Regions from separate parts of the Homo sapiens genome. Here region 1 is linked to region 2. Evidence: promoter capture Hi-C in human tissues and cell types (Jung and others, 2019). All regions are on one chromosome and are shown on one strand. Each heading gives the region's core, a stretch centred on a gene start or on the middle of the fragment in contact. The rest is flanking DNA. Distances are from core to core; before and after follow the strand shown. Region 1 holds the start of LOC124907732 (a long non-coding RNA gene). Region 2 holds the start of NOL10 (nucleolar protein 10).

The links. The method cuts DNA at HindIII sites, captures the fragments that hold promoters and counts their contacts. A contact is called where the count stands out against the background at its distance.
Region 1: a fragment that was not itself captured here is called in contact with the fragment with the promoter of NOL10 in region 2 in 1 of the 25 tissues and cell types used here (lymphoblastoid cells).

Annotation. Positions count from the first base shown.
Region 1 is chr2:10,428,948-10,433,722 of GRCh38, forward strand. It overlaps LOC124907732 (a long non-coding RNA gene), which reads right to left and starts at 3,866. Exons shown (of 2, transcript XR_007086214.1): 1 at 3,751-3,866; 2 at 2,639-2,910. RefSeq lists enhancers at 3,672-4,637, 4,638-4,775 and a silencer at 3,918-3,977. The HindIII fragment of the contact is 4,159 bases long and covers 1-4,153 here.
Region 2 is chr2:10,686,880-10,691,280 of GRCh38, forward strand. It overlaps NOL10 (nucleolar protein 10), which reads right to left and starts at 3,096. Exons shown (of 21, transcript NM_024894.4): 1 at 2,917-3,096. The coding sequence starts at 2,982. It also overlaps the pseudogene RN7SL832P. RefSeq lists enhancers at 2,543-2,602, 2,663-2,942. The HindIII fragment of the contact is 16,217 bases long and covers 1-4,401 here.

The DNA of each region.
Region 1 (4,775 bases), core at 824-3,323, 260 kb before region 2:
ATGGAGGCCAGGTGCCCTGGGCAGATCTAGCTTGCTACAAAGAGGCAAGACGGTGCCTTTGGCAACACTGCCTCACCTGGAAGAACAGCCAGTGAACGGCTTGAATTTTATAAACATTTAACTGGGACTGGCAAAGGTTAAATCAAGAGTGCTTGTTGTGGGGAGGGCTCACTTATGATGGGGACAGAGTCCAACAGAAACAGATGGGAGTGACCACTACATTAGTCAGGGTTCTCCAGGAACAGAACTGATAGGAGACATGCATGGATGGGAGGGGTGGGTGGATGGATGGGTGGGTGGGTGGGTGGATGGATGGATGGATGGATGTATGGATGAGTGGGTGAGGGGATGGGTGGGTGAATGGATGGGTGGGTGGATGCATAGACAGGTGGATGCATGGATGGGTGGATGGATGGCTGGGTGGATGGGTTGGTGAATGGGTGGGTCGGTGGGTGGATCGATAGGTGGATGGGTGGGTCGATGGATGGGTCGGTGGGTAGATGGATGGATGGGAGTATGGGTGGATGGGTGGGTGGGTGGATGGGTCCCTAGGTGGATCGGTTGATGGATGAATGGGTGGCTGGATGGATGGATGGATGGGTGGATGGATGGTTGGGTGGGTGGGTGGATGGATGGATGGGTGGATGGGTGGGTGAATGGTTGGGTGGGTGGGTGGATGCATGCATGGGTGGGTGGGTGGGTGGGTGGATGGATGGATGGATGGATGGGTGAATGGTTGGGTGGGTGGGTAGATGCATGGATGGGTTGGTGGGTGGGTGGCTGGATGGATGGGTGGATGGGTGGGCAGGTGGGTGGATGTATGTATGTATGGATGGGTGGGTGATTGGTTGGATGGGAGGGTGGATGCATGGATGGGTGGGCGGGTGGGTGGATGGATGGATGGATGGATGGATGGATGGATGGATGAATGGGTAGGCGAATGGATGGTTAGATAGATGTATTTATCATAAGGAATTGGCTTATACGTGATTATGGAGGCTGAGAGGTCCCAAGGAGACAAGCAGCCCTGTCCCCTGTAGACAGAGGTCAGCAAGCTGGGGACCCAGGAGAGCTAATGGTGTAGTTCCAGTCTGAATCTTAAGGGAGGAGGAGGCCAATGTCCCAGCTCAAGACTGTGAGGCAAAGAACAAATTCTCAGGCTTTTGTCCTATTCAGGCCTTCAGCTGAGTGGATGAGGACCCCCACATTGGGGAGGGGGATCTGCTTTACCCCACCTGGTTCCCCCATTGGTCACCAGTTCCAATGTCAAATTCATCCAAAAGCACCCTCACAGGCACACCCAAAATAATCGGTTTGCCCAAATGTCTGGGTACCCCCTGGCCCAGTCATGTTGACACATAAAATTAACCATTATAACCACCTCTGCTCAGATATGGAGGAGGTAGATATGGGGATCCTAGTGGACCCTGCCCTACAAGGAGCTCACAGAAGCCAGTATGATTTGTCCAGGAGTCCAGTGCTCTCTGGGAAGGCAGGGAATTGAACCCCAAAGATGGTGTCCCTGTGCCAAGAAGCCCAGCCTATCAGAGGAGGAAAGAACCCAGAAGTGAACCCAAAACTGTCGTCCATGCCACCCACCCAGCAGGAGGCCTCCTCAGTCTCTTCCTTTGTCCGGGATCAGGATCTTTCAGGGCGGGTTGTTAGAAAGTGTCTCGGCTGGGTGCGGTGGCTCACGCCTGTAATCACAGCACTTTGGGAGGCCAAAGCGGGTGGATCATGAGGTCAGGAAATCGAGACCATTCTGGCTAACACGGTGAAACCCCGTCTCTACTAAAAATATAAAAAATTAGCCGGGCATGGTGGTGGGCGCCTGTAGTCCCAGCTACTCAGGAGGCTGAGGCAGGAGAATGGCGTAAACCCAGAAGTCGGAGGTTGCAGTGAGCCGAGACGGTGCCACTGCACTGTAGCCTGGGTGACAGAGACTCTGTCTCAAAAAAAAAAAAAAAAAGAAAGAAAGTGTCTCCACCTGTCCTTCCCTGGTAATTTGCAGTACTGGCCCTGGGCCTGCTTCCTCTTCCTCCAACCACCTCCTTCTGCAAGCTTCTCTCTTGTCCTGCCTTCTCCTTGCCCCAGGGGATCCCAGACCCTTTGCCATCCTGCACGGGCACTCCAAGTTGTTAAAGTTCCTTGGGAGTTGCATACAAGTGTCCCTTATCCTATAGACAGATAGAAGATCTAATCATGTACCTGCATAAGCAAGGCTTATGTGGGTGGACTCAACAGAAACTCTGGAAAATGGCTCCGGTGGCTCCATGGTCCCATCCACCAGCTGTCCTGACACTCACTGCATGGTGTCCCATGCTCACTGAGTAAATACAGGGTAATGGGAACAACTCCTGAGACAGGAAAATGTTTAGACTCGAAGGAAGGAAGCCCTGGAGTGTGGAGGGAAGGGTGGCAGTATGAGGTGTTAGTCCCAAGACAGTTCATCTAGTCAGGCCACGATGAACCCCTAGTAGGGCAAGACTGTCACCTCCCTTACTCTGAACCTTAGGCCTTAATTAATACAGCCCCAGGCATTTTCTGCTTGGGTAGACTGGCCTCCCGCGTGGGAACCAGCATTGAGCTAGCAAAACATTAGCTCCCATTTATCAAGGGTTTCCACGTACAGACACTGTTTAAAACTTTAAACGTCTAATTTAACCCTCCCATCAACCCTGCAATGTGGTATCACTACCACATTATACAGATTGATAATGCTGGTTTAAGAGAAGTTAAGTAACTAGCCTGAAATCCTTAGCAAGAGGTGGCAGAATCAGGAATTGAAAGAAGGATCAGCTCCCAAGTCCGAGGTGCGTCTTCTCCCGATTCCAGAAAGGTCTTCCAGTAGCTGGGCTGGAGCCGGGTCCATGTTTCCTTGCCAGCGGCCTCCTTCAGGGCCCCTGGTGTCTAGAGAAATGAAGGAGTTTCTCCCTGGGTCCCTGAACAAGACTTAAACGCACTGTATTTGTGGCACCCAGGCCTGACTCCCTCCCCACCCCGTGCCAGGTCACGCCCTAGTGGAGAAGGGGGCGCGCCTCCCCACCACTGCCTGAGGGGCGCCCTCCTGAGCGCCCGTTTCTCAGGGCGGGGCACTGGACTCCGAATGGAACCCTCCCCTCCTTGCCGGGCTTAGGCAGGTACGTCATTAGATCTTCTATCTGCCTCTTGAGATCAGGGGTGCGCATGAGCAGGGACCCAAAACGGGGGTCCAGTTAGGATCACAGCCCCCCAAGAGGAGACAGAACCCACAGGACCTTCAGGCTTCTGAGAGGGACCTCGTGGGCCCCGGAAAAGGTATTTAGAAAAACAGGAGTTCGGCCTTGGGTTCATCCGTGGCGTGGCCTTCCCCCAGCCGCCTTGCCCTGGGCTGGGCGCCGTTGGGAATCAAACCCACACGCCTGGGGAGCTGCCAGCCAGCGGGAGCCTCGGCCGTCGGGGAACAGACTCCGGCTTGGGGCAGCCTGGCAGCCCTGAAAGGAACAAGAAGAAAATGGAGCTGTGGGGCAGGGGCGGGGCTCGGCTCGAGAGGCAAGTGGTCCCGCGCTAGTCCCACCTGTCACCAGCCACCCAGTCCTGCCGCTCTGACCCCGCCACTGCGGCGCAGGGGCCTGGTGCCCGCTGGTCCTGGGCTCCGGCTCCGGGTCGGCAGCGATGTATCCCGGCCCAGAGTGGGGCGGGGTAGGGCAGGGCCAAGGTCAGTTTCCTTTAAGCTGGGCACGCCCTCTCCTTGGCTTGGGGCTCCCTTACTGTGGCCTGGGAAGAGGTCTCAGAGGAGAAGGGGTGATGCTGGAGACACGGTGGCGAAGGAGCACTGCGGCCTGGGCCCCGGGGGGCAGCTGTTTATCCAGCAAACACCTCCCCAGGGCCAGCGCGGGGCATGGCACAGCAGGGCACTGCCGGGGCGCAGGAGCTGCGGGGGCGGGTACAGCCTGCCTGGGGCAGGAGGCTGGGGAGGGTGGGAGGGAGCTCGGGAGGAGGGGTGACTGAGGCCAGCGGGGGCGGGCGGGGCGGCAGCCCCTGGAGGGCCCCTGGAAGGCCTCAGCTCCTCCGGCTCTTCCCAGCGGGCTGTGTGACTGTACCATGGGGCCCCGACCTGAAGGGGCCACCTGCCTCCTGCAGTTCACGGGAAGGCAGACCCTGGCCCGCCCTGGAGCCACCTGCCCACGGCCTCTTCCAGCTGCAGCCAGGCCCTCCGGGCTCGAGCGGGCTCATCCACTAGGTGTGTGTGTGTGCGTCTGTGTGTTGTCTTGGGTGTGTGTGTGGCTGGGGCATGTGGTCTTAGTGTGTGCTGTGGATGTGTGTGGTGTGTTTGGGTGTGTGGGAATGGTGTGGGGATGGTGTGACTTTGTGTGTGATGTCGAGGTGTGTGGTGTGTTTGCATGTGTGGTGGTGTGTGGGCATGGTGTGACCGTGTGTGCGATGTGTATGTGTGTGGTATGTTTGCGTGTGTGGTGGTGTGTGGGGCATGGTGTGACTTTGTGTGATGTGGATGTGTGTGGTGTATTTGCGTGTGTAGTGGTGTGTGAGGGATGGTGTGACTGTGTGTGTGCTGTGGATGTGTGTGGTATGTTTGCGTGTGTGGTGGTGTGTGGGGCATGGTGTAACTATGTGTACATGTGTGTGTTGTGGATGCATGTGTGTCTGTGTGTGTCATGGTGTGTGGGGCATGGTGTAACTGTGTATGCTGTGGATGTGTGTGGTGGTGTGTGCTGTGTGTGAGTGGCATTGCGTGTGCTGTGAATGTGTGTGGTGGTGTGTACTGTACTGTGTGT
Region 2 (4,401 bases), core at 1,846-4,345:
ACAAGTTAAGTTTGAGATGCCTATCAGACATCCAAGCGGGGATGTCAAGAAACAGTTGGATACACAAGTCCAGTTCAGAGTAGAGGTAAGGGCTAGAAACATCAATGTGATAGTTATCGATATGCAGATGTGCTTAAAGCCAGGAGACTGCCTAGGATCACCAGGGGAGTAAACGTAGAGGCTTCTCTACATTAATAAAAAGGTAAAGCCCAGAAGGAGAGAAGCAATATTTGCACAGATCAGACAACAACTGGGGTTCCACGTGTAGTTTAGGCACCACACCTCAAAGAAATAACCAGAAAATATTAAACAGGACAAGCAGGGGTTTCCAAATCCACTCAGCTCAAGCTACCCTCCCCACCACTCCACTGGAGCTCCTTGCCAAGGTCAAGGGCGCTCTGCATCATGCCAAAGTCGATGGTCATTTTTCTGCCTTCATCTTACTGAAGCTCTCAGTAGCAGCTGACACAGGTGACCACCACCTCCTCCTTGAAACACTTACTTCTACAAAACTACACATTTCCCAGTCTCCCCTTCCATCAGTGCCCACTACTCTTTCTTCTTTGCTGGGTTCCCCTCCTCTTCTTGGATGACAAATGCTAAGACTGCCTCAGGTCCTCAGCCTAGTTATCTTCTCTGTTCTTTCTCTCACAATTTGATCTCACCTAGTCCCAAATAACGACAGTAAATTCACCTGCAATCTCCATCCTAGTATCCATGCAACTGCTAACTACTCAACATCTCCATTTGGTATGTATTAGAACTTCAAATGTTCACTATTGAAAATAAAAACCTTGGGCCGGGTGCAGTGGCTCATGCCTGTAATCCCAGCACTTTGGGAGGCCGAGGTGGGTGGATCACAAGATCAGATCGAGACCATACCGGCCAACATAGTGAAACTCCGTCTCTACTAAAAATACAAAAATTAGCTGGTGTGGTGGCACGTGCCTGTAGTCCCAGCTACTGGGGAGGCTGAGGCAGGAGAATCGCTTGAACCCGAGAGGTTGCAGTGAGCCAACATCAGGCCATTGCACGCGACCTCAAAAAAAAATCTTGATTCTTTTTGCTCACTACGTTCCTCCTCTCCACCTTTCAATGTGTTCCTTCTTGATTCTTCTCCATGTCAGTTAGCAGCACCACCGTGCACCCACTTGTTCAGACTCAAAACTGAAGAGTTCTCTGATTCCTTCCTTTTTGTCACCTCAACTTCCCTCTACCAACAGTCCAATCCATTAGCAAGTTCCATTACCCTATCTACAAAGTATGTCCTGAATCTCACTGTGTTTTAGCATCTTCTTTGTTACCAGGCAAGCCCAAGCCACCGAAGTCGCTCACCTGGACTACCTAATTCATCCCGACTTGAACCCTCCCCAGCTAGACATTTGTCGCACAGCAGCCCACACAACAGTGACTTCCAGCAGCACTAAGAATAAAACTTGAACTTCCTACCTTTCCTACCAGGCCTACCTCTCCAGCCTCATCCACCCTGCTCTCGCCCCCTCACTCAGCATAGTGCAATCACACCTGTGCCTCTTCCGTCCTCCTACATGTCCAGTGCATTCCCATGTGGGGCTTTTGCACTTTCTGTTCTCAGCACTGAAAACTCTTCCCCACATCTTCACACGACTGGCTCCTCTTCATCATCCAAGTTTCTGCTCATATGTCACCTCTTGTAGAGAGGCCTTCCCCGAAGGTTTTATCCAAAACACTTTCTCTCAATATTTTATCCAAAACAGCTCTCTTCTAATCATTCACCACGAAAAGTACTTTTTGACTACCTTAAATTGCCTTATTTGCTCACTTGTTTATTTCCCTTTTCCCCAACAGGGAACCTTATCTGAAATGTCCACTATAGATCCCAATACTTAAAACAGAGTTGCTTGCACACAGTAACTTCTCAATACATGTGGAGAATGAATGAACAAAATGAGAAAGCTCATGGGGTGTGAAGAACAACTGGAAGACAGGGAATTATTCAAACCAGAATTTTAGGAAGAAAGGAAAAACCTAAGCACTGGCTCCAAATTTTTGTAGAAGCAGACGCATGGAAGGAGAGCTATATTTATTCTGTTTTCCAAGGGCAGGACTCAGGCCAACAGTGGCATGCTATAAGGTGACATATTTGAAAACCACTTTCTAACAAGTGCAGAGTCTCAAAATGGAAATGAGCTTCCACAAAAGGTAGTGCTCAGTGGTAGTGCTTGGACAGAGGCTGGATCATCACGTATAAGAAACAAAAGACAAGTTTCAGAGCCTAAGTGTGTCATGCTGGACAAGTCACCCTTCCCCTTGCTGGATCTCAGCTGCATATTAAACGCATTATTAAATCTCAGCTGCATTACTAAACACGAGAAGATTGGAAGAGAATTACCGACTTGTCCAAGCCCTCTCCAACTTTAAGACTAGGAATCAGGTTAAGTTCAACAAGTCTCGAAAATACTGTCCTCTACACCATAAATTCTGCAGATGCGAAGTCTGTATCTCCCTTGTTCACTGTTGTATCCCTAAGACCTGGCAAATGATAGGGACTCCACAAACAGCTGATGGCCATATGGGGGAGAGATGTGTCAACGAATCTGCCACGTTTTCCTCCTCGATGTACGGCAGGGACTGTGAACACCCAAAGAGGCCCAAATGGTTGCGTTCTCTGGAACAGAGAACTTTACAAAAGTTCCAGCAAAGCTCACTGACCCTGATTATCCCTTGGTCCAGTTTCTGGCGCGGTGACGGCAGTGTCCTTGTCTCCCAATGCCGACACCTCCCCCGGAAATTGTCAGCCGCCTCTGGGCCTCCCCGAGTCGGGGGGTGACCAGCGTCCAGCTAAAACAGAGGCTAGGGCCGAGGAGAGGGGCGGCTGCCCCACGAGGAGGACGACCCCCAAGAGCTCGAGAGTGAGGGGGCCGGGAAGTGACTCACCTCAGGAAGGGACTTGCCGCAGCTGAGGCTGTAAATCTTCACCTCATTGAGGCTGGAGACCTGCATGGCGCCGCACAACACTGTTCAAGTCCCGGGTCCTTTCCCACCAGCGTGCTCGAGCACCGTAATCCCGGGACCTCCGAGCCCCTGCTCCGCGGCGTGCGGCCGCTGGCGCCGACTGATGACGCACTTCCTGGAGCCGGAACACGCGGGCAAGTTCCCGGAAGAGGGAAGGTGGCTGAATCCGGGAAGAGCGGCGGCCGGGAGAAAAACTAGTGAGGCTCTGACAACCCGGCGTGGCTGTCGGCGACGCTGCTACGGGCAAGACTAGACACAAGCCGGGCGCGGTGGCTCACGCCTGTAATCCCAGCACTTTGGGAGGCTGAGGCGGGCGGATCACCTGAGGTCGGGAGTTCGAGACCAGCCTGACCAATATGGTGAAACCCCGTCTCTACTAAAAATACAAAAAAATTAGCCTTGCGTGGTGGCCGGCATCTGTAGTCCCAGCTACACGGGAGGTTGAGGCAGGAGAATTGCTTGAACCTGGGAGGCGGAGGTTGCAGTGAGCTGAGATCGCGCCGCTGCACTCCAGCCTGGGGGACAGAGCGAGATTCCCTCTCAAAAAAAAAAAAAAAAAAAAAAAAACTAGACACAGCTCTCCCTGCTGTTAGCATCCCGAGCGGCAGGAGGAGGCTTTCGAGTCTCTGCCCAGGCCGAGATGTCATCCTCCCGGGCGGGGGCGAGGCAGTTCAGCGAGTGAACCCAGCGAATGAAGGCGACCAGGGTGCGAATTCCGAGTGGAAGTGTATTCTCTTCTCTCCTCCAGTGTTTCTGCGATGTTACGTTAGAAGTACTGTAGGCCGGGTGCGGTGGCTCACGCCTGTAATCCTAACACTTTGGGAGGCCGAGGCGGGCGGATCACCTGAGGTCAGGAGTTCAAGACCAGCCTAGCCAAGATGGTGAAACCCCGTCTCTACTAAAAATACAAAAATCAGTCGGGCCTGGTGGCGCGCGCCTGTAATCTCAGCTACTCTGAAGGCTGAGGTGGGGGAATCGCCTGAACCCGGGAGGCAGAGGTTGCCGTCAGCTGAGATCGTGCCACTGCAGTCCAGCCTGGGCAACAGAGTGAGACTCCGTCTCAAAAAAAAAAAAAAAAAAAAAAGAAGACTGTGGCGTCATCTTCAACCCATTCCTATCTCTGGCCCTCACTTTCAGTATCTAAACCTGGATATTTCTAATTATGAAATATTTCCTTAAAGTAATCTGTTTTCATTCCTCCTGCTGAAACTCAAATACTTAACTATTTTTGGATTATAACTTTCCCAAGTGATCTTCTTACTTCCTTTGATTTAATGAACAAATTATTTTATGCCTTACTTTCTAAAACCCAAATATTATTGTTTTGCTCTCCTACCCACAACATTTTGGAAACTCTCAAATACCAACACCACATTGCATCAGAATTAGGTTGAGAGTTCTTCGTGG